7 separate regions of the Homo sapiens genome follow, and all the other regions are linked to region 1. Evidence: promoter capture Hi-C in 16 types of primary human blood cells and fetal thymus (Javierre and others, 2016). All regions are on one chromosome and are shown on one strand. Each heading gives the region's core, a stretch centred on a gene start or on the middle of the fragment in contact. The rest is flanking DNA. Distances are from core to core; before and after follow the strand shown. Region 1 holds the start of ENDOV (endonuclease V). Region 2 overlaps RPTOR (regulatory associated protein of MTOR complex 1). Region 3 overlaps RPTOR (regulatory associated protein of MTOR complex 1). Region 4 holds the start of LOC124904075. Region 5 overlaps RPTOR (regulatory associated protein of MTOR complex 1). Region 6 overlaps RPTOR (regulatory associated protein of MTOR complex 1). Region 7 overlaps RPTOR (regulatory associated protein of MTOR complex 1).

Region 1 (2,899 bases), core at 182-2,681:
CAGGGCACCCATGAAAATGCTGCTCAGGAACCCACAGGAGTGATGGTGGCACAGCCAGGGAAGGAGCAGAGGGGAAACAGACAAGGGGACAGATTCCAGCGACATTTAAGAGGCAGAATAAAAGCGAGCTAGTGTGCAACTGGACGCGAGAGGAACGGAGGGGCCCAGGAGGATGCAGATCTCCAGCTTGGGCAACTGGGAGCGTGGTGGACAGGTCACTGAGATGAAGAACCCAAGATAACAATCAGACTTGAAGATAAAGCTCATGAGCTGATTCTTAATAGTCACAGAATTCCCTTAATTTTTGCCTTTTTTTCCCTTCCAAGACTCCCCAGACTTTTTTTTTTTTTTTTTTTTTTTGAGATGGAGTTTCGCTCTTGTTGCCGAGGCTGGAGTGCAATGGCGTGATGTTGGCTCACCGCAACCTCCGCCTCCCGGGTTCAAGCGATTCTCCCGCCTCAGCCTTCCGAGTAGCTGGGATTACAGGTATATGCCACCACACCCGTCTAATTTTGTATTTTTAGTAGAGACCGGGTTTCTCCATGTTGGTCAGGCTGGTCTCGAACTCCCGACCTCAGGTGATTCCCCCGCCTCAGCCTCCCAAAGTGCTGGGATTGCAGGCGTGAGCCACCGCGCCCGGCCAACTCCCCAGACTATTAATGACATCCTACAAAACGAGAAGCCGGGTTCTACGCTTGCACTGCTCCCTGTCCCGGAGACCGCACGCCCGAGCCCACCGAGGGGCCCGCCTCGAGCTCGGCGTCCTCCCAGGTTACCTCGAGCTCAGGGAAGCTGAGCACCACCAGGGAAGCACAAGCGCGGACACTGTCCCCTTTCACGAAGGACACGTCAACGCCCCCGACCCTCTGCAGACCCGAGAAGGCGGGGTCTCGCTGCCACGCCTCGGTGTCCCGGTCTACGACGTGGGCCTTCAGCCGAGCTTGCTCCCTAGGAGGACAGAAGCGTCAAACTTGGTCGGGGTCACACCTCAGACTCTGCCTCCTCCACCCGCGCGGCTGCAGCGGACAGAGCGCCTCTGCCGGGTCTTCTCCCGCTTCAAGGGAAAGCAAGGGACATACCGCCGAGGCCACAGTCCCTAGGAGCCCAGGCGGCGGAGACCCGCGCAAGCGCAGGCCAGACAAACTGGCCGGAAGCGAGAACCGCGCCCACCCCGCGGACTACAATTCCTGAGATCCCTCCGCTTCCGCGCCGGAAACTGGGCTTTGCTTTGGAGTCTCGGGCGGTGGCAGCTCCGATTCCACAGCCTGAAGACTATGAGCTCGGAGGGTCCGCGAAGGGCCGCCCGGCCTCGGCCCCCGCCTCCTGCGCGTCGCCTGACAGCATTACCGTTTCCACAGTGACAGCGTTTCCTCCGGCGGCCCTCCCGCCGCCTCCAGGGCCATGGCTTCGTCCCGGGCACCCCTTCCGCACGTCACTTCCGGAAGCGACTCGCTCTGACGCCGTCCGCCCTCGTTGCCATGGAGACGCTTGCGCTTTCCCGGGCCGCACTTCCCACCCGGGTCTTCAGAAGCCCGTGGCCGCTGGGTGAGCCCCTGCGTGAACGCACACGCACGCACACGGCTTCAGGTTGCCCCGCGGCGCCGCGCGCGATATCGGCTCGGATCCCGGGAGGCCGTCCGCCCCTTTTTCAGCGGATAGCTGAGGCCAGGTAAGTGACCGCGCGAGGACCCGGGAACTCCGTGACGCCCGTCCCGCCTCTGCTGTCCCCGCCGCAAGCGCTGCGCTCTGCACGGCGAGAGGGGCCTCTTGCCCTGTTGAGAGCCGGCGGGCACGGCACTTCTGCGCTTGGAAAAGGGTGGTCCAGCACTGCAGGTCCCACTCCTTGGCCCGGTCAGCGTCCGCCTTTGCTGAACCCCGAAAGGATTCACCAGGTCCAGGACAGCCCGGCAGTTGCCTCAGGAGCACTTACTGAGCGCCTGTCGTTGACGCCCCCACCTCGATGGCAGCTCAGGGGTGCCCTCAAGCTTTTGAGGGCAGGTGTCGTGTATTTAAATTCTTCACAGTTTAGCGGGCTGGACTCACGGGGGTGCTGCAGACTTGGACGGGGTTTCATCTGGGTCGGACCTTGCTGGGCAGAAAGCTTCTCCTACCAGACAAAGTACGGCGACCTTGGGGGGTCTTGGTTCTTACCTCGTGTTCCTCATTGAATGAGTGTTGGTTCAGTGCTCTCGCTGTGCCAGGTGTTGTGCGAAGTACTGTGAGGGAGAATATGTATTTATTTGTGGGGAGCCGACTTTAAACCGGTGGTTGGGAAAGGCCTGAGAGGCGATATTGAAGACACCTGAAGGGTGAGTGAAAGAGCACGGCGGGTGAGTGGAGCAGCTTTCTCGTGCAGGTCCCGGGGTGGGAAAGAGGTTGGTGTATTTGAAGCACTGAAAGGCAGCCACTGAAGCTGAAGTGTAGCAGTTTAACCCATGGTTTTATATTCTCCTGGGAGGATTCAGAAGGGTGTATGTGTGTATGTATATATAATAGCCTGAATATAAACGTCAAGGGTGTTAGGTTTTGAAGGGAAGGTGAAGGTTAAAGAATGACGCACAGTGAGATTGCCGGCGCGCGGGCGGCTCTACAGCAACACAGGTGTATTGCAAACACCTGTCGGGGGCCAGCTTAATGCCAGAGCCCACCAGCGATTACAGGCTGGGGTACTCATAGGCCTGGGCAGGAGGGATCTAGGCAGTATGGCTTGCTGTCCGGGAAGATGTTAACGTGTTCCCAGGATGAGGTGGTTCCGGCAGAATGTGGTGTTCCTGGCGCTTTGTCCCAGCAGAATATGTTAAGAGGCAGGCTGTTTCTCATGGCTCGAACCCCCGTGGAATGTTTCACTTTGACCAAGGTCTACAAAATGGAAAGGGGCTTACAAAATGACGCAGTTTGG
Region 2 (2,726 bases), core at 197-2,696, 400 kb before region 1:
GCCAAGCCATCAAGATAAACGGAGGCCAGATAGGACCAGTGTGTACTTAGTTGTGTTTTTACAAATTGGTATCTTGTGATGATCACCAGTAAATAAATGCAAAGCTAGACTCTCCCAACATGGTCCTGAAAATCCCACTGGTCTCTTCCCTAAGCTCATCGTGAAACCAGACAGAGTCATCTGCCCAGCCGACTTCAGACAGACCCAGAAATCATTCAAGTCGATGAACCAACCATCCAGTGAGCAAAAGCTGATGAGGCTTCTTGATCCAGCAGGCCTGGTCCTACTGGGGGTGACAAGGTGGAACCGAGTCCAGCATCCCTCACTTTTCACGTCACATAAAATTAAATCCTTGCAGAAACGATTTGTTTCTGATTTCCTTTCTGTACCTGATCCTAACCAATGCTGAGTCTTGCCCAACTCGGGAGGCCACTGAGATCACGAGGGGACCACAGAAGAAGCCTATTGGTGTATGTTGTCCATGTCAGACCATGTTTCATTCTAGAAGTTTCTCTGAACCCTCAAAGGGTTAATGATCAAGGTGGCTCTTTTAAAATTTAAATTCAGAGTGTTAATCAAGGACTTCTATGTGAAAACTGTAAAAAGCTACAGTTCAGGAAAAGACTCCTGAATTGGGAGACAAGAAAACTCAAGCGCTGGTCCCAGCCGTGCTATGGCTGGATGACTCGTGGTACCTGTTTCTCTGCTGAGTCAACACAGCTGACCCTGATGCAAAATGGCGACTAAAATAAAACAGATGACACTCCAACAACAGATGTGGCAGATGCCGGGGTGGCCCCCCAACAGGGCCCGCGCCTCCTCAAACTCTCCTTCACTGCCATTGGCAGGAGGGTTTATCTCCACCTTCCCCCACACTTCCGGGCTCACCTGTGGCATGCGGTTTCTTGCCAGGATTTATCTTCCTTACTGCAACATCCAGGTCATCATGATGACCCCGGCCCTGCTAGACTCTGGCAGAACTTCAGCATCCACACCCCATTTGTGCAACCACTGTAGAGTGCCAGGCCAGCTCCGAAATGCCAAGCAGGTGCCCTTCCCCTAAGGCCCCTTCTTCTTCCCTGACACCCCTGGCTGTCCCCACCACCACCCTCTGCTGGGAACTTGTCACTCAACAAGAGCTGCTGTGTCTCCAGCCCTCGCCTTTGATTCTCCACCAGATGCCTGAGGGATCACAGCCCATCACAGTCACTCTCCCAAGGGTGCTCCCTCCCCCACCCCTTCTCCCGGACCTGCCCGGCTCCCTGTCATTTGCCCCATCACTCTGCCTGCTCCCCACTTCCAGCATGAGGTGCCACCCACTCCTTGGGGCCCTGTCCCTCCCCGGTTCACTCACAGGTGCCCACGTGGCAGGTGCTTGCCTCCCAGTCTCTCCAGGTTCCTGCTCTCACCTGGATTCTCGGGGGCGCCTTCAGCTCCGTCTGCACTCAGGAGACGCAACACATGATCTCCTCCCCATGGGGTGGCCGCCTCACTGCCGTCCCTGGCCCCATCCATGCAGAGGACAAGGACAAGGGGCTGTGAGGTCATCAGGATGTCTCCCCTGCAGAACCCCCAGCCTTCCTTTTCCTTCACTTCCAGGCCTAAACTTGGGAGCCAGACAGACGGGGGCTTGAATTTGGCCAGAGACTGGCTCTGTGACTGTGGACTAGCTGCCCAGCCTCTCAGAGGCTTGGATTTTCTTCAGCATGAACATTTACACTACCTCCACCACCGCTGCCAGCTGGGCACTCATGCCGTGCCTCCCGCTGTGCGGCTCGGTGGACCCAGGCCCCCAAGTCACCCACCTGCCAAGTCCACCAAGACTTCCTTCCCAATGCCCACGCCAGGCAGGTCTTATGTTCACTTGCTTTTCAGATGGAGAAACTGAGGCTCTATGAGGGTGTGTCTTCCACTAGAGACAAGTGGCAGAAACCAGACCCAGACCCCGCAGCCGCCTCGCAGGAATGGGAGGACCAGGGATGGGCCGGGGAGACCACTGGCTGCTGGGGCTCAACATGCAGTGGCCGCTGGGGCCTTATGCCTGTCTACCCTGGGGAAAACCCATGTGGCCCTGAAGCTGGCACTAGCTAAGCTCTCCTTGGCCCCCGTAGGCTCCTCTTACCTGCCATGCGAAAGCTGGTTTCTGTCCTCACCGCCCTTCCAAGCCACCTCCTCCCAAGCCCCCTCACTCCAGTGGCTGGCCAGCCTTGCCTTTCTTCATTTGCTGAATCTGCAAATCCTGACTGTCTCTCCCCTGGCACCCGGCTCCTCCCTTAGTGACCTCTGGGAGCACTGCGTCGCCAGCTCTTTTCACACCCCAGGATCTGCTCCAGCGGCAGCCCTGCTCCTTCCAGGTCTCACGACAAGGCGCTTCCCTTCACCCTCGGCTTGCCTGGCATCACAGCTCAAGCGGAACGTGTGTAAAATCAAGTGCAATGCCTCCATCTTCTCCACTGCTGGTCCCCACTCCAAGAGTCCCTGTGGATTCGCGTTTCACTGAGGCTCGAAACCCCGGAGGCCCCAGGCCCTCAGCTGCTCTCTGGTCCTGCACTGGGGCCAGCCAGGCCTCCCAAAGATGCCTCTTCCCACCTCCTCTGCGGCACCCTGCAGCCAGGCCTGCCAGGCGTCCAGACAGCATTCTCGGGCCAGGCCCTTCTGCCCTGGCTCACGCTACACAGGCTGATGGCTCTTAACACACAGCTGGGCCCCCAAACATACAAGGTTCT
Region 3 (2,700 bases), core at 163-2,662, 490 kb before region 1:
CAACAGGCCAGTAGCACATAAAAGAAACCTGAGGAGATGGCCTGCTGCCTGGGGATGAACGTCTCCAGGTGCCCGTGCAGCTGGCCACACCACACGGTGACGAAGGAGGTGGCAGAATCCGCTGCAGGGATGCGGTGACGAAGGAAGTGGCAGAGTCCGCTGCAGGAGGGGAGGCCGGTGCAGAATTAAACAATCTGGACCTTTCCAAGTTGGCCAATAGGCTACTTGTGACTATACCGGTGATACCATAAAGAACAGGCCAGGCGCAGTGGCTCACGCCTGTAATCCCAGCACTTTGGGAGGCCGAGGCAGGCGGATCACGAGGTCAAGAGACCGAGACCATCCTGGCCAACACGGTGAAACCCCTCGTCTCTCCTAAAAATACAAAAATTAGCCGGGTGTGGTGGCTCACGCCTGTAGTCCCAGCTACTTGGGAGGCTGAGGCAGCAGAACTGCTTGAACCTGGGAGGCGGAGGCTGCAGTGAGCTGAGATTGTGCCACTGCACTCCAGCCTGGCAACAGAGCAAGAGAAAAAAAAAAAAAAAGAACTGAAGAAGAACCAACTGCAGACGGTAAGGTGATTTCCATCTAAGATATAACTAGACCAACAGAAAATAACTTAGTTGAAGGAACCGAAAGCCACAGAAGTATAATATCAGCAAAAGGAGCTGAGGAGCTGCAGGAACCCTGGCTCGATGGCCGGCCAGGACCCAGAAGGCCACAGCAAATGAGAGGGGGAGACTCGATAGCTCATTTGGAAAAAGCGATGGACTAGGATGGGAAGCCGTGGCTCCTCGACCCTGCAGACCCTGGCACTGAGTGATACCCGAGGCAACGCCATAGCCGTGACGAGGTCAGATGAAGACGTAGAACACCACAGAGGCTGCAAGAGTGTGGCCTTTCCCTGCATTCTTCCTGCAACATTTCTGTAAGCTTTTGAAGTTTTATCAAAAAGTTACCAAAAAATTTTTAAGTGCTATAATGAGTGACTTCTAATTCCACATAAATCATCCAACTTCCATAAGCAACTAGAAAACCAGGACAAATACCGTAAACAATTGTTTTTGGACACTGGGTGCTGGGTGTCACGGGCTTGTGATCCCTGAGAGAACGGAAATAAACAGCTGCCCTGTGTCCGGCTTGCAGGTAGTTTCAGGCAGTCCCAGGCCACAGTGCAGAGACGGGGAGCCCAGCACTTTCAGGGAACAGGAGACAGAGACTGGGGCTCCAGGGAGGCTGAGGTGGTGACAATTTGCAGGACAGAGCACTGGAGAGGGGAAAGCTTCCAAGGTCTGCAGGAGAGGCCCCTGGGGTCTTTGACTAAGTATTCATCTGCTCAAGGGTAGAGTGACAACCCATGAGGCAGAGAAAAAACAGCGGGAAGGCGGTAGGCCAAATGCCCAGAGCTCACAAAAGGGACTGAGAAGAGTTTACAGTCCCCAAAGAGAAAGGACTAAAATCAATGACCTCTGCTTCTACCTTAAGAAACTAGGATGAGAAGAGCAAATTAAACTCAAAGTAAGCAGAAGAAAGCAAGCTTTATTGATGAAAGCTCAATCAATCAAATGGAAAATGGACAAACAACAGAGAAAAACCAATGAAACCAAAAACTGATTCTTTGAAAAGTTCCCTTGAGCTAGAATGGCCATGAATAAGAAACCATTAACTAGAAGGGTTTTGAATGAGTCAAAAATTACTGCTATCAGAAAGGGAAGAAAAGTCTGGGTGTGGTGGCTCATGCCTGTAATCCCAGCACTTCAGGAGGCCAAGGCAGGAGGATCACTTGAACTGAGGAGTTAGAGACCAGCTTGGGCGACACACTGAGACTCTGTCTCTACAAAAAATTTAAAAATTAGCCGGGTGTGGTGGTGTGCACCTGTAGTCCCAGCTACTTCCAAGGCTGAGGTGGGAGGATTGCTTGAGCCCAGGAGTTGGAGGCTACAGTGAGCCGTGATCAGGTCACTGCATTCTAGTCTGGACAGAGTGAGACTGTCTTACAAAAACAAAAAACAGGTGCAGTGGCTCACGCTTGTAATCCCAGCACTTTGGGAGGCTGAGGCAGGAGGATCCCTTGAGCCCAGGAGTTCAAGACCAGCCTGGGCAACACAGGGAGACCCCATCTCTTATAAATAATTAAGTAAAGAAAGAAAAAAAAAATGGAAGAAGGGCCAGCACTGTAGCTCACCCAGACACCAGAGGATCCTGAAAGATAATGTCAGTCCTCCCCTAATTGCCTTGACAGGCATCAGTAAATCCAGCACCCTCTGCCCACGTGGGAGCTGCACAGACACAGTTTGGGGTGTACTGTGTACATCTCCAGATTTAAGATATTTGCTGAAGCTCGTTTTGTTACTTTCTAAACTGTGGTGTGGACCCGGGCACACCTGGAGTTCCTGGCATGCATACTCGTAACCGAGAACCAGCAGCTGGAGCGCGGTGGGGAGCGCCCGGCACGTACCTTGTAGGCGATGCTGTTGAGTACTTTCATGGCCACGTCCGAGACCTCTGGATAGGGGTCAGCAGCCAGGTGCAGCAGGACTCTCCAAATCTGAGTGTAAACACTGTTAAAGGAAACTCCTGAGAGAGAGAAATGGAAGATGTTTTAGTGGAAAGTAGCTGCCAATGAGGCTCCTAAGGCGGCTGCATTTTCTGAAACCCTAACCCTGGTATCAGAAGTGTTGCTTTAAAGAGCCGAGGTTA
Region 4 (2,977 bases), core at 110-2,609, 480 kb before region 1:
TGACGGCAGCTGCTACCTGTGCTGCAACAAATGTCAGAGCAGGGGCTGCACAGCTCAGGGAGACTCAGACGTGAGCGGAGGCTCTGCGGGATAGCACTGGACAAACAACAACCGCTTGTGGCTCTGTGCATATTAAATTACAAAAGACAACAGGGGAGAGGCTGGTGGCTGCGGCCTGTCCGAGTGCACACGAGGTGCATGGTGACGTGGGCCGTGAGCCGTGCTCCCCGGGAAGCCGCAGCAGAGCAATGACCGTCCACACTCAGTCTGGCTCACCCTTCTCCCCTCCTGGGCTTCCTAGAAGCAGTGAGGCCTCACTGCTGATGACAAGCCCCTGCACGGCAGAGACGGCTGTGTGGAAGCGGGAGGGGCTGCCGGCAGCGATGAGATAGGAACTGTACTCTCCAGTCAAAACGACACGTGTGAGAAAGCACGCCTGACATGACTCACCGAGCCACGGAGCCAAGAGCAGTGTGATGAAATTACTCATCGCAGGAAGACGGCCCCTGCGCTTTTCCGCAAGCTCCTACTGCAGAAGTTTTGTCATACTTCAAGGTCTCTGTGAGTTTAATTTCCAAAAAGGGTAAAAAGAAAGGAAAAATGTAAGAGGGTCAGTGTGGCCCTCTTTCCTGCCCTTTTAAATCTGGCAGGTGCCTAAAAAGATGAGAAAAACAGGGACCCCTTGCGGCAGGTATCTGAGAAACCTGCGCTTAGACTCTGCGAGGGTGAGCAAGACTGGGCCGCGGCCTGCACTAGAACCGCCAGGCGAGGTGCTCTGCGGGTTCACAGGAGAAGACGCCATACCTGTGGTTGCTGGAGAAGGCAAGGCGTAGTTCTTTTCCTCTTCTATGAACTGCAGGGCCACGGTGCAGAAATTGCTTTCATACTGAACCACAAGATGACTCAGAGCCACCACCAGCTCCTGCCGAGAGGGAGAAGGGACAATAACAGTCACTGGGGCTGGAAAATGATTGTGGAGCAGCAGTGAGACTTGAGTCACCAACAGAAAAAAGAAAGGTTAAGACAAAACCGTGCAATTGGCATCAGAAACAGGGACCATCCCTTTTCGAACCGTCAGAGCAGAGGCCTTGGAATAGCAGAGTGCTGGGAGACGGCAGGCCACTGGCTCACGGGGGAAGCCCAGAATGCCTGCCAGAATCCTCCCCACTGCTAGAGGCGCACGACGCATCGGGGGTCTCGTAAGGACACGGTGAGTCACAGGACTCCAGAGAGGGAAAGGTAGGAGGCCTCACAGCCTCTCGCTTACGGTGACCACTGGGACCCTGGCTGAAAACGCCGCTCTAGATCACACCCGATGGCTGGCGGCCTTTCTGAATCTGAGCGCCCCAGGGCCGAGTGCAGCGGACAAGCCGAAGCCTGCTCTTTTCAACACATGTGAAACTTTCATTGGTAGATGTTTCTAGTCCCTAAGAGGGAACGGGAAAAGTTGTAGAACTAAAACATCATCTTTAGGACCAAATGCCTTGGTCCAAGGGAACAGACACAATTTGCCTCTCTTTTAGGACAGTTCAGTGCTGTGACAGGAACAGCTGGAGATCCTAGAAGTCACTGGGGAACAGAAGGGGGATGTAGGTTTAAAAAGCGGAAAGAACGTTTTTTTCCCTACGACAACTTTTTCTGCCTTTTTTTTTTCTGAAAAGAAAAAATACGGATTCTTAGCAGAAAGCCAAGCGCTGTGAGAGGACCCCTTGCTAGTCGCGTGACGCCCCTGTCTCCACAGCGGCTGGATGAGCAGGCTCTGGATGGGCGCCCACCAGGGACCAGGGTCTTCTCGTGGCCACCCCACTCTCCGTCTACGCACTCTCTGTACACGCACTTTCCCACCCCAGCCTTACATGCCCCGGGCTTCCTCCTATCATGCTTTGTGGTTTCCCTGATGCCGGCCCCTCACTCTCCTAGGTCCAGGCTGGCTGTCCAGCTGCCGGCTCTTCACCTGCACCCCAAACTCTCCCTGCCCTATGAACTGCGGGCACCGTCTACTTTCCCTTCAGCCTGCAGCGCCCTCTTGATTTGCGCCGATGGAACTGCAAGTCTCTCACTGCTCAGAATGGAGCCCTGGCATCACCCTCCACCCGCCCCTCCCACCCTGCTGGGCACCAAGGGCCATGGCCCAGTGTGCGTCTTCACGGCCATGGCCCACGCCCCGGTTCTGGCGCTCGTCTCCAACTGCCTAAGTCACTGTCCCAGGCTCCCCTGGCAAACCACAGAACCCCCGCTGCCTTCCCTGTGCAAGAGGAGTGAGGCACTGCCGAGACGGGGCCTCCGACAAAGCGAACACCCACTGGGCCCCTTCCAGGGAAGATCAAGGCTGCACCTGTCTTCAGAAAGCACCGATTTTTTTCCCTTTCCTTCTGACATCAGGTGAGAAAAGCCAGAGCTGGGAGCTGGCATGGATTAACGTGCACCGAGGTGGTGGGCCCTTCGATTCAGGGGAGGCCAACAGGGGCCACGTCTGTTATTCAAGGGGAATGTCCAGAGAGCACTCACTCCCGAACACACATCCTGCTGCGCACGGGGCCTCCCTCGGGGGCCGCACATCCCTCACTCCTGAACACACATCCTGCTGCATACAGGGGCCTCCCTCACTCCCGAACACACATCCTGCTGCGTACGGGGGCCTCCCTCGGAGGCCGCACATCCTGCTGTGTACGGGGGCCTCCCTCGGAGGCCGCACATCCTGCTGCGTACGGGGGCCTCCCTCGGAGGCCGCACATCCTGCTGCGTACGGGGGCCTCCCTCGGAGGCCGCACATCCTGCTGCATACGGGGGCCTCCCTCGGAGGCCGCACATCCTGCTGCGTACGGGGGCCTCCCTTGGAGGCCGCACATCCTGCTGGAGATGGCGGGCCTCGCTCTGGAGGCTGCTGCCTGGCACACAGCAAAGAGCTCTCCTTTGCGTTGGACCCTTCCTGCCCTTCCTGAATGGAGCTGGGCTCTGACAGCAACACACACACGCA
Region 5 (2,931 bases), core at 1-2,500, 370 kb before region 1:
AATGTGTGAGCATGACAAAAATACTCTCAGAGGCACATATGGCCTCAGAAGACTTGTCACAAAAAGACTCATGAGGAAGACACTTTCAGATGACAAGCTAAAGTTAGAGGGGAGAAAACTCCAAGAGACGCTGAAGGGGATCTATGAAGTAATGATGACACACAAACTTGTTAACATTTGTAGTCGTCCTAAAATGAAAAGCAAAAAGGTGGGGGCAATATCCATCATAACCAGGATTGAAAACCTAGATATAAATCCACAAGAGCATTAAAAATCCAATAGAAAAATGGATGAACAGACATCTCAAAGATGAGGACATAACTATGGCCACTGAACGTGAGGAAATGTTCAACATCATGCGATATGAGAGAAACGCAAATCCAGGCTACACGAGATATCATTCTAAACCTACTCAGCAAAAATGTACAAGAATGGCAATGCCAAGAACTAGAAAGGATGTGGATCATAGGCTGTCTCCATCACCACTGTAGGAGTGTAAAATGGCACAACCACTGGGAAAGCACCTTACCATGATCCCTTAAAACTGAATGTTCCTATACACTATGATCCGGCAACTCTGCTTTTCAATATATAAGAAATTCTTGCATGTGTTCAAAAGAACACACAGAAAAGAATGTTCAAAGTATCTCTGTTGGTAATAGCAAAAATAAAATACAATACACCAAAGCAAAGCAAAACAAACAAATAAAGGAAGAAGCTGAAAAAGCTCAAGTGTCCATTAAGGAGTAGCAGGTGCACACAGTGTGGCATATTCGCAGAGTTAGACGGGGGTACTCTAGCTAAACACACATCAATATGGAGGAACATGAGCAACACAATGCTAAGTGGGAAATGTCCACATTCCAACCAAAAGTATTTTTTTAAAAGAGTCCTCAAAATCACATTCAGCACTAAAGCCTTTAATAAATTTAAAATCTGAAAGAAAAGTAATGGTCTTAATGAATACACACAGATGCATAGTAGCAATGTAGAAAGGGCATGGAAGGGATGATGAGCCCGGCACTCAGGGCGGTGGTCACAGGGCGGGGGCGGCAGGTGCGTGTGCATCAAGGGCGCCCTGCGTGGTGGGCGCAGGTCATCATCAAGGGCTGGGTTTTGGTTGGGTGGTGGTTTGAGGAAACCCATTATGCTATAAAAATACCTGTTAATTAACTGCTTAAAAGGAGGCCAAATATGGACTAGTGATGAGTGTGGCATGAAGCAAGAATTGTGACGGATCCAGGCTGGGTACGCAAACAAGTGGCTTCAAGATTTTTATGATGTTAAATTAAGTTTCGCCTAAAGGCTGCCTCCGTACATGTTTTATGTTTGGCCTAATGGTTCCATATACATGGTGAACTGTAACCCAACCTGATGTATAAACAGCCTGGTCTTGTGACAGGCAGCTGAGTCTCAGACTACCACAGGCAGCCAACTGTTCGAACTGGGCTCAAGCAAGGCAGACCCCCTGCGGTAGCCAATCCAGCTGCTGCGGCTCTTCCATTCTCCGGAGTCACTTTCGTTTCTGCCCATGAATGGTATCCAGCCACATGGCAGTGCCGGTGTCACTCTGAACCTACTCTGGTTCTGGGGCTGCCTGATTCAAGAATGGTTCTTTGCTCAATTAAACTCTGTTGTATTCAATTTGCCTAGAGTTTTCTTTTAACAATGAAGAACAAATTAATGTTCAGCTCGGTAACCTTGTCAAATATCATACAAATAACTATTGAATGCTGTTTTCATTTTTGAGAATGAAAATTCCTTTGTTTCCTCCTAATTAAAAAAAAACCCACATGTATTTACCATAAAAAAGTGAAAAATTTGTATAAACCCACCATGTTGAGATAGCTTAGCATTTTCATATTTATCTTTTACACAACACTGAATCATGCTGATTTATTTTAGAATAAAAGCAAATGGCGGTCACTATAAAAACCCAAATCATACAGACATGTGTCACGCAAAAGTGCGTCAGTCTAACTTTCACTCTCCCACCCCACTGTGCAGAAGCGGCCTCTGCTATGACCTTCAGGACTTGGTCCGGGCATATACAGTCATCCCTGGGTATCCCTGGGGGACTGGTTCCGGGACACCACCACCCACCCCACCTAGCCACTCCTCTCCCCATGGACAGACGCTCTATGAAAACTCCTGAACAAGGAGAGCTTCCCGGTTAGAAGGTGAACACACGATGTGCTGGAGTGTGGCACCCCCCTGCTCTCGCCAACATGCAGAGTCCCCCCTTCTCTAGTGGTGAAGACATAAGTGGCTTCCCTGGAGGTCTCGCCATCAGCATTCCCTGTGCAGTTCCTCGGCAAAGGAGAGGAAAAGGCCCTCAAAACACATCCCCATCATGACTGTCATTGTCACTGTGAGAGCTGATCATACAAACTGGGTCATTCTTGTCATACCCAACTCAGTCAGAGTCAAGGGGCCGGGGGAAAGCACTCGGGCCACAAAACATTCCTCCAGCAATGTAGTTCTCTGCCAGCCTGGCCGCGGAAACTGCCTGCTGCCACTTGAAACCAGTTTTCACTAATGGCAACCGACACAACCTGCTGTGATTCGAGGACTCATTTCACCCACTCACCAGTCGGGAACCTGCCAGCTCCCCAGAAACCTCACTAGTGCCGAAGAACCTTCTCAAAGAGCAACACGAAACAGTTCTCCTCTTTTTAAAACTGCCAACCTTTTATTTGTTCATCAAGATATACTGAAGACCACCTGGTCTGCCTGTATGCCTTCGACTGTAAATCTTGCTTCCCAAATAAAATGTTTTACATTTAGAGATTCATCACTATATTTTATCTGACTTTGACTCCAGTCCCTAATATCCCTGCTCATTTTTAGCCTTTGGTAGTTGCTTTTCTGTATCCTGACCAGAGCTTTTCTTTGTAATGAGCGGGACAGAGAGGCTGTAGGTGGCTTACT
Region 6 (2,958 bases), core at 158-2,657, 310 kb before region 1:
GCTTTCCCAGCCCCGCCTGCTCTGGGAAGCCTGCTTGGATGTGGGCCTCTGTGGTCGCTTCTCTGTGAGCGGCGTCTGTCCCTCTCAGCACCAGGGCCATTTGGGGCCGGGCCGCTCCTTGTGGGGCTGCCCTGTGCACCACACAATCTTCCGCAGCACCACCCAGCCACCCCCACACCTAGATGTGACAATCTCCAGGTTGCTGGACATTGCCAAATGTCCCAGTGTCCCCTGAGGGGAAAAGTTTCCCTGGTTGAGAACCGCTGCCTTGGAGGAGAGGCGATTTCCTTTCAAACATGAGCTGTATACATTACAGTTAGTGAGACTGCAACAATTTGGAAGTCTGTATCCCTCAGGGAATATAAAACCAACTCTATTAAGCCACAGTGTGGAAAATGACCTTTGATAGCGAATCCTGATTAGAACACGGGATGCAGACCTCATTTCCCATCTCAGAGGTCCTGGGTCGTTTGTCAAGCTCCAGGCCAGAATTATGGCCCCTGCAAACCAGCAAAGGGCAGCCTGCAGCCTCACAGCCCCGGCTGCAGGGGCAGAAACAACGCCCACAGTAGAGTCACTCCTCGTTGTCCTGTGGAATATTCCTCTGTCATCCTGACTGCACCAACCCACACCAGCCCAGAATTGAAAAGCCCCCTGTATACACGGAAGGCTGCTTGGAACACTCAAGAGCTTGTGGCCAATGGTTTTCATTTCTTCTTGATCCAAAACTAAAAGTACAGAGAATAATTCCTAATCAAAGCGTCTCTTCTTTTTCTCCAAGAATCATATTCAAGGCCATGTTTTCTTTTCAAACAAAGAAATAGAAATGGGTTTTAGATAATTTCTTCATTACAATCCACTTTATCTGTCAGGTTATATTAAACATCAGGGGAAGAGTCCGCCTGCCTCACCAGTCTGTCGCCGCAGCCTGAGTTAGCCACCAAGGCAGCCATGGCCGGGAGAGCCCAGCCCACTGAAGCCTGCAGGCTGTCTTCCCACAGAGGGGCAGCCCAGCAGCCCGCCAGCCTCCAAGGAGCTTCCCACAATTCTACATCTCAGGGATTTCTGGTGGAAAGACTGAAACTGGGTTTTGGCTTAAGTTAAATGTGAGCGTTTTATCCCTTTAAATTACAGAGCAGAAGACAAAACGCAAAACCCCTCACATACCAAACAGATGAGTACAAAGAAGAGAACGGCATGTCCCAGGGGAGGCAAGGGGCGTGGTGGCAAGGCATGGCAGGAAGAAGCCCTGGCCTCAGCAAGTTTGCATCCCAGTGGGTGAGGTGGGCAGAACGACACGGTGCCGCCACCCCGTGCTCCAGCTGAAAAGGCAAGCGCAAGTGTCGTGGGGGCGGCTTCTTCTCCCACGGCCCCTCCTCAGATCCAGGCACAGCAGCTCTGACACTGCAGAGGAGGGAACGGGGGGCACACTGGGCAGGTGCAGACAGTCGCCCTCTGGAAGGGCAGGTGGGGTGTCCCAACCCCAACTCCAACCCACCACAGGCTGAGCAGGTAGATGTGATGAGCCTGGAAATTTCTGGCCTCACCACTGTTGGGATGGGAGAACCTGGCCTCGCCGCTGTTGCGATGGTAGAACTCGCAAGCATCTCTGTGGATAGCTGGGATACACAGGAAGACTGCCATCAGCTGAAGGACATGGATCTCCAGGTGGCCTTACCCAAACCTGATTTGGCCATTTCATTAGCCCTGCAAAGATACCATCCTACTTTATACAAACTGGGGTATTTAGCACCTACTAATCAGATCATAGCAGCATTTTCCTCAACATAAAGAAAAATGCCAACTATGCCAGGCAGTAAACATGAGGAAGGGGTGGGTTGCCATGTCTCCTCTCTCCTGACCCTTCCATCCTGGCACTCATGGCCCCCACCTCTCAGGACATGGCCTGGCTTCTCACTTAACAGGAGACAGGCTCCAAGGGGAACCAGCTCTCATGTCCAGCTTCAAAGCTCCACCACATTTGTATTCACCTCTCCTTCCCTCCCACGTCTCAGAGAAGAGTGCTTGGGCTTGCCAAGTCAAATGCTGTATCTCTGTCCTGAATTAATCTTCTCATACCTTCCCATTTCTCATCCTTTACTCCACTGATTTATACTTTCTTCAGCAACCCCCTTTCTCCTATCTACAAACATAAGTTACCTCTTGCAGAAACTAAACATCCCTGCTTAGCCTTGTTCTTTCTTCGAGGTCTCCCCAACAGACAGGCTCCTCTAATCACATGCTCTCTATGTATTTATTGCAAAAATTGTATTACAGAGAAAGCTAGAAAAAACAGTGTTATTCAGTAGTATCACCAAACTTCTGGAAAGATTAGTCTATTCCAGTCCCTAGTCCCTTACCTCCTGTTTAGTCATTAAAATCTAGTTTCCACACCTGTACATAGATACGCAAATCAATATGCATGTGTTTACAGCTTACTACACACAAATGCATCACTTAGCTAAGTCCACGGAGAGGGCCTAGGCCTAGTAACACTAATGCTCCAGTAGTAACGAGCACACAAAGAGGCCACATCTTGGTTTCTAAATCCCACTCTCAAAAAAGCCAAAGATCCTTGGAAAAATGGTTGATCCAGGGCTGTGGTAGAGAAAATGCTAGAAGGTGTGTCAGTGGTCAAAGTTGAAACAATTTCAGTAACAAAATAAATAATGATAATAATAATGGATTATAACCCAAGAAGTAAAATAAATATTAGTGGCTCCATATGGATATAAACAAACAACCAAGTAAATAAACAACAAGAGAAGCAACAATTCTTTCATACAGAAGAATTCCAGTTACTAAACGTGGAAGGAAATAGGGAGGTACAGCACCACCATTAGAACACCAGGATAGTAATTACACATGAATGTTAGAATTAGGGCATGGCAGTTTAAGGAGAAACAGGATATCTGCATACTCTCAAAGTATCTCCTTCAAATGCTTATGAATTATAAA
Region 7 (3,036 bases), core at 122-2,621, 350 kb before region 1:
TAGCACAAATCAAATGATCGCTTTTTTATTTAAAAAAGGGTCATGAATGCCTGCTATTAAATACGGAGCTGAATGCACTGACAGTTTTTGCATGCAATGTGACCTAACGTCACTGATTAAATATGGAGGCATGAGCACGCTTAGGCACATAAATCAAACAAGAAGCCAAACTGCCACTAAAATGCCCAGAAGTTTAAGAAGAAGATACAAAGAGGCAAATAAGCAGTTAATATGTCACCGTGTGATGGGGATATAAGTCAGTCGATTAGTAGGTATGATTTCAAACAAGTCCTGAAGCTAATCTGGAACATAGTGATGATGACATCAAGCAGGAGACAACAAATGACTTTCTTCCCATGAGACACGGACAGTGAGGAGGCCTGGGACAGGCAGGAGTGAGGCCGGGGCTGAGCACTCTTTCCCGTGCAGTATTTCACCCAAGCTGATTTCCGAGGATTACATGAATAACTCAGTAGCTATGAGAGCCCAACTGTGGGCTGAACTGCACAGTCTTAATTCTTTTCTGAATGCTCCTTTTATGTTAAAAGGATACTCTGTGTATACTTGCTACCCTTGAGTCCTCCAGATACATTACACACGGATGCATTCAAACTCTCACAAAAGTCTTTGGGACTCACTAAGCGGCCTACTGAGACCCCAAGTGAGATCACGCACTCCATGGTTCTCCCGTTAGACAGACATGGGAGAAGAGGAAATGTGAGCCAACAGTAAATGACTAGAAGGTAAGTCCCAACGTGAACCAAAAATATAAAGGCAAGCTGCTCTTAAAAAAAAATTCACGTGGTCAGGCGCGGTGGCTCACGCCTGTAATCCCAGCACTTTGGGAGGCCGAGGCGGGCGGATCACGAGGTCTGGAAATCGAGACCATCCTGGCTAACATGGTGAAACCCCATCTCTACTAAAAATACAAAAATTAGCCAGGCATGGTGTTACGTGCCTGTAATCCCAGCTACTCAGAAGGCTGAGGCAGGAGAATCACTTGAAACAGGGAGTCAGAGGTTGCAGTGAGCTGAGATTGCACCACTGCACTCCAGCCTGGCGACACAGCAAGACTCTGTCTCAAAAATAATAAAATAAAATAAAATCATAAAAAAAAAATTCAAGTAACACTTTTTCTTAGGGAAGTAAGCTGATTTGTAAAAGGCCCCAGGTGCATAAAATTTGGTCAAATTAGTCAACAGTTAGGCAGTAACCTTGTAAAGATTTTCTTAGCTTTTACCATTACTAATTACACCGAGCCTTGGGACAGCAACTTAATATGGTCAGCAGATATTTAAACATTTCACAAAGGTTGTCTGTCTATTCTGTTCATCTTAAAGGTTTGGTAAAATTCACTAGTAAAGATATCTGGGTGCGGGGTTGTCTTTGAATGGTTGTTAACCAGAAATTTAATTTACTTAACAGATATATCCTATCCAAATTTTCTTTTTATTCTTCTGTCAGATTTGATAACTTGTGTCTTTCACAGAATTTATCCATTGCATCTAAGATGAAGAATTTACTGGCATATGGTCCTTCATGATTAAAATGATTCCCTTATTCTCCTTTTATTTACTTATAATTTTCATTTTTGGAGACAGGGTCTCACTCTGTGGTCTATGCTGGACCACAGTGACGTGATCACTGCACTGCTCACTACAGCCTCAATGCCTCCCAGTGATCCTCCCACCTCAGCCTCCCAAGTAGCTGGGACTACAAGCGTATGCCACCACGCACGAGTAATTTTTATATTTTGTAGAGATGGGGTTTTGCTATGTTGCCCAGGCTGGTCTTGAACTCCTGGGCTCAAGCGATCCACCTGCCTCGGCCTCCCAAAGTGCTGGGATTATAGGCATGAGCCCCCGCACCTGGCCCCTTATTCTTTTAACATCTGTAGGATCAGTAAGGATGTGCCCTCTTTCATTTCTGATGAAAGTCATTTGTATCTTCCTTCTATTTTTCTTGAGCACTCTAGAAAAAGTTTTGACAATTTTAATGAACCTTTCAAAAACTATCAACTAGTTTCATGAATTTTTACAAATTTTGGGGTCAACTTCTGTTTATTTTTGCTCTTCTCTTTATTATTTCTTTTCTTCTACTTACTTAGGGTTTAATGTATTCTTTTTTTTCTGGACTTAAAGAAAAACTTAGACCATACATTTGAGAGTTTTTTAATTAAAAACTACAAATAGCATTAAATTTTGAGATCAATTATTGCCGGTACATGAACACCTAGTTAAGTAATGGTGCCTGTTTCTTTCCCTAGTGACAAACAGTGAGCTTACAAACAGCAGTAAGAAAGGGTACAGTGCACACCTCTAGGTGGACCTTTGCAAGCATTTCTATACACTATTAACAAAGGAAAAGAACTGCCAACTAAACAGGTATGTTACTTATTGTAAGATGCTTCTGGACCCCAGATATGTTAAGTGTGAAAACGCACATGCTGGGATCAGGCGTGGTGGCTCATGCCTGGAATTCCAGCACTTTGGGAGGCTAAAGCAGGAGGATCACTTGAGCCCAGGAGTTCAAGGATGCAGTGAGCTATGACTGTGTCACTGCACTCCCATCTAAGTAAAAGGGAGAGACCCTGTCTCTATTTTTTAAAAAAGGACCAGACATGGTGCCTCATGCTTGTAATTCCAGCACTTTGTAAGGCTGAGGTGGGAGGATCTCTTGAGCTTAGGAGTTCGAGACCAGCCTGGGCAACATGGTGACACAGTCTCTACAAAAGATACAAAAATTAGTCAGAATGGTGGCATACACCTGTAGTCCCAGTTACCTGGGGGGCTGAGGTGGGGGGATTGCTTGAGCCCGAGAAGTTGAGACTACGGTGGGCCGTGTTCACACCACTGCACTCCAGCCTGGGTGACAAAGCAAGATCACGTCTTAAAAAAAATTTAAAAAGTACATGCTAGAATCAGTGAACTATGTTAGATGGCCCTTACTGTAAACAGATAATTACAAATGTTCACATTCCTTCTGCTGGTTATGGAGTTATCTTACTGGGGGTCAGGAATTCTAATACTGTTTTAG

The links. The method cuts DNA at HindIII sites, captures the fragments that hold promoters and counts their contacts. A CHiCAGO score of 5 or more calls a contact.
Region 2: a fragment that was not itself captured here is called in contact with the fragment with the promoter of ENDOV in region 1 in 2 of 17 cell types (M2 macrophages and M1 macrophages); the score reaches 7.7 in M2 macrophages.
Region 3: a fragment that was not itself captured here is called in contact with the fragment with the promoter of ENDOV in region 1 in 15 of 17 cell types (activated CD4 T cells, naive CD4 T cells, naive CD8 T cells and 12 more); the score reaches 13.6 in activated CD4 T cells.
Region 4: a contact is called between a fragment that was not itself captured here and the fragment with the promoter of ENDOV in region 1, in 14 of 17 cell types (naive CD4 T cells, naive CD8 T cells, M1 macrophages and 11 more). The highest score is 14.3, in naive CD4 T cells.
Region 5: a contact is called between a fragment that was not itself captured here and the fragment with the promoter of ENDOV in region 1, in 1 of 17 cell types (M2 macrophages). The highest score is 5.8, in M2 macrophages.
Region 6: a fragment that was not itself captured here is called in contact with the fragment with the promoter of ENDOV in region 1 in 1 of 17 cell types (M2 macrophages); the score reaches 6.1 in M2 macrophages.
Region 7: a fragment that was not itself captured here is called in contact with the fragment with the promoter of ENDOV in region 1 in 1 of 17 cell types (M2 macrophages); the score reaches 5.1 in M2 macrophages.

The regions. Positions count from the first base shown.
Region 1 is chr17:80,413,699-80,416,597 of GRCh38, reverse strand. It overlaps ENDOV (endonuclease V), which reads right to left and starts at 1,431. Exons shown (of 10, transcript NM_173627.5): 1 at 1,348-1,431; 2 at 777-948. The coding sequence starts at 1,403. It overlaps RNF213-AS1 (RNF213 antisense RNA 1), which reads left to right and starts at 1,430. Exons shown (of 2, transcript NR_029376.1): 1 at 1,430-1,669. RefSeq lists an enhancer at 909-998. The HindIII fragment of the contact is 3,926 bases long and covers 1-1,987 here.
Region 2 is chr17:80,816,155-80,818,880 of GRCh38, reverse strand. The region is part of intron 7 of RPTOR (regulatory associated protein of MTOR complex 1); the gene reads right to left. Among named protein-coding and RNA genes, the nearest start is that of CHMP6, 170 kb to the left of the region's middle. The HindIII fragment of the contact is 7,384 bases long and covers 1-2,726 here.
Region 3 is chr17:80,908,688-80,911,387 of GRCh38, reverse strand. It overlaps RPTOR (regulatory associated protein of MTOR complex 1), which reads right to left. Exons shown (of 34, transcript NM_020761.3): 21 at 2,459-2,577. Among named protein-coding and RNA genes, the nearest start is that of CHMP6, 82 kb to the left of the region's middle. RefSeq lists enhancers at 457-646, 767-996. The HindIII fragment of the contact is 255 bases long and covers 1,285-1,539 here.
Region 4 is chr17:80,889,665-80,892,641 of GRCh38, reverse strand. It overlaps RPTOR (regulatory associated protein of MTOR complex 1), which reads right to left. Exons shown (of 34, transcript NM_020761.3): 18 at 805-922. It overlaps LOC124904075, which reads left to right and starts at 471. Exons shown (of 2, transcript XM_047437253.1): 1 at 471-2,382. The coding sequence starts at 1,898. The HindIII fragment of the contact is 9,458 bases long and covers 1-2,977 here.
Region 5 is chr17:80,785,190-80,788,120 of GRCh38, reverse strand. All of the region lies in intron 6 of RPTOR (regulatory associated protein of MTOR complex 1), which reads right to left. Among named protein-coding and RNA genes, the nearest start is that of CHMP6, 210 kb to the left of the region's middle. The HindIII fragment of the contact is 3,482 bases long and covers 1-2,931 here.
Region 6 is chr17:80,723,214-80,726,171 of GRCh38, reverse strand. All of the region lies in intron 4 of RPTOR (regulatory associated protein of MTOR complex 1), which reads right to left. Among named protein-coding and RNA genes, the nearest start is that of RPTOR, 180 kb to the right of the region's middle. RefSeq lists an enhancer at 1-400. The HindIII fragment of the contact is 6,253 bases long and covers 1-2,958 here.
Region 7 is chr17:80,765,929-80,768,964 of GRCh38, reverse strand. The region is part of intron 6 of RPTOR (regulatory associated protein of MTOR complex 1); the gene reads right to left. Among named protein-coding and RNA genes, the nearest start is that of RPTOR, 220 kb to the right of the region's middle. The HindIII fragment of the contact is 7,759 bases long and covers 1-3,036 here.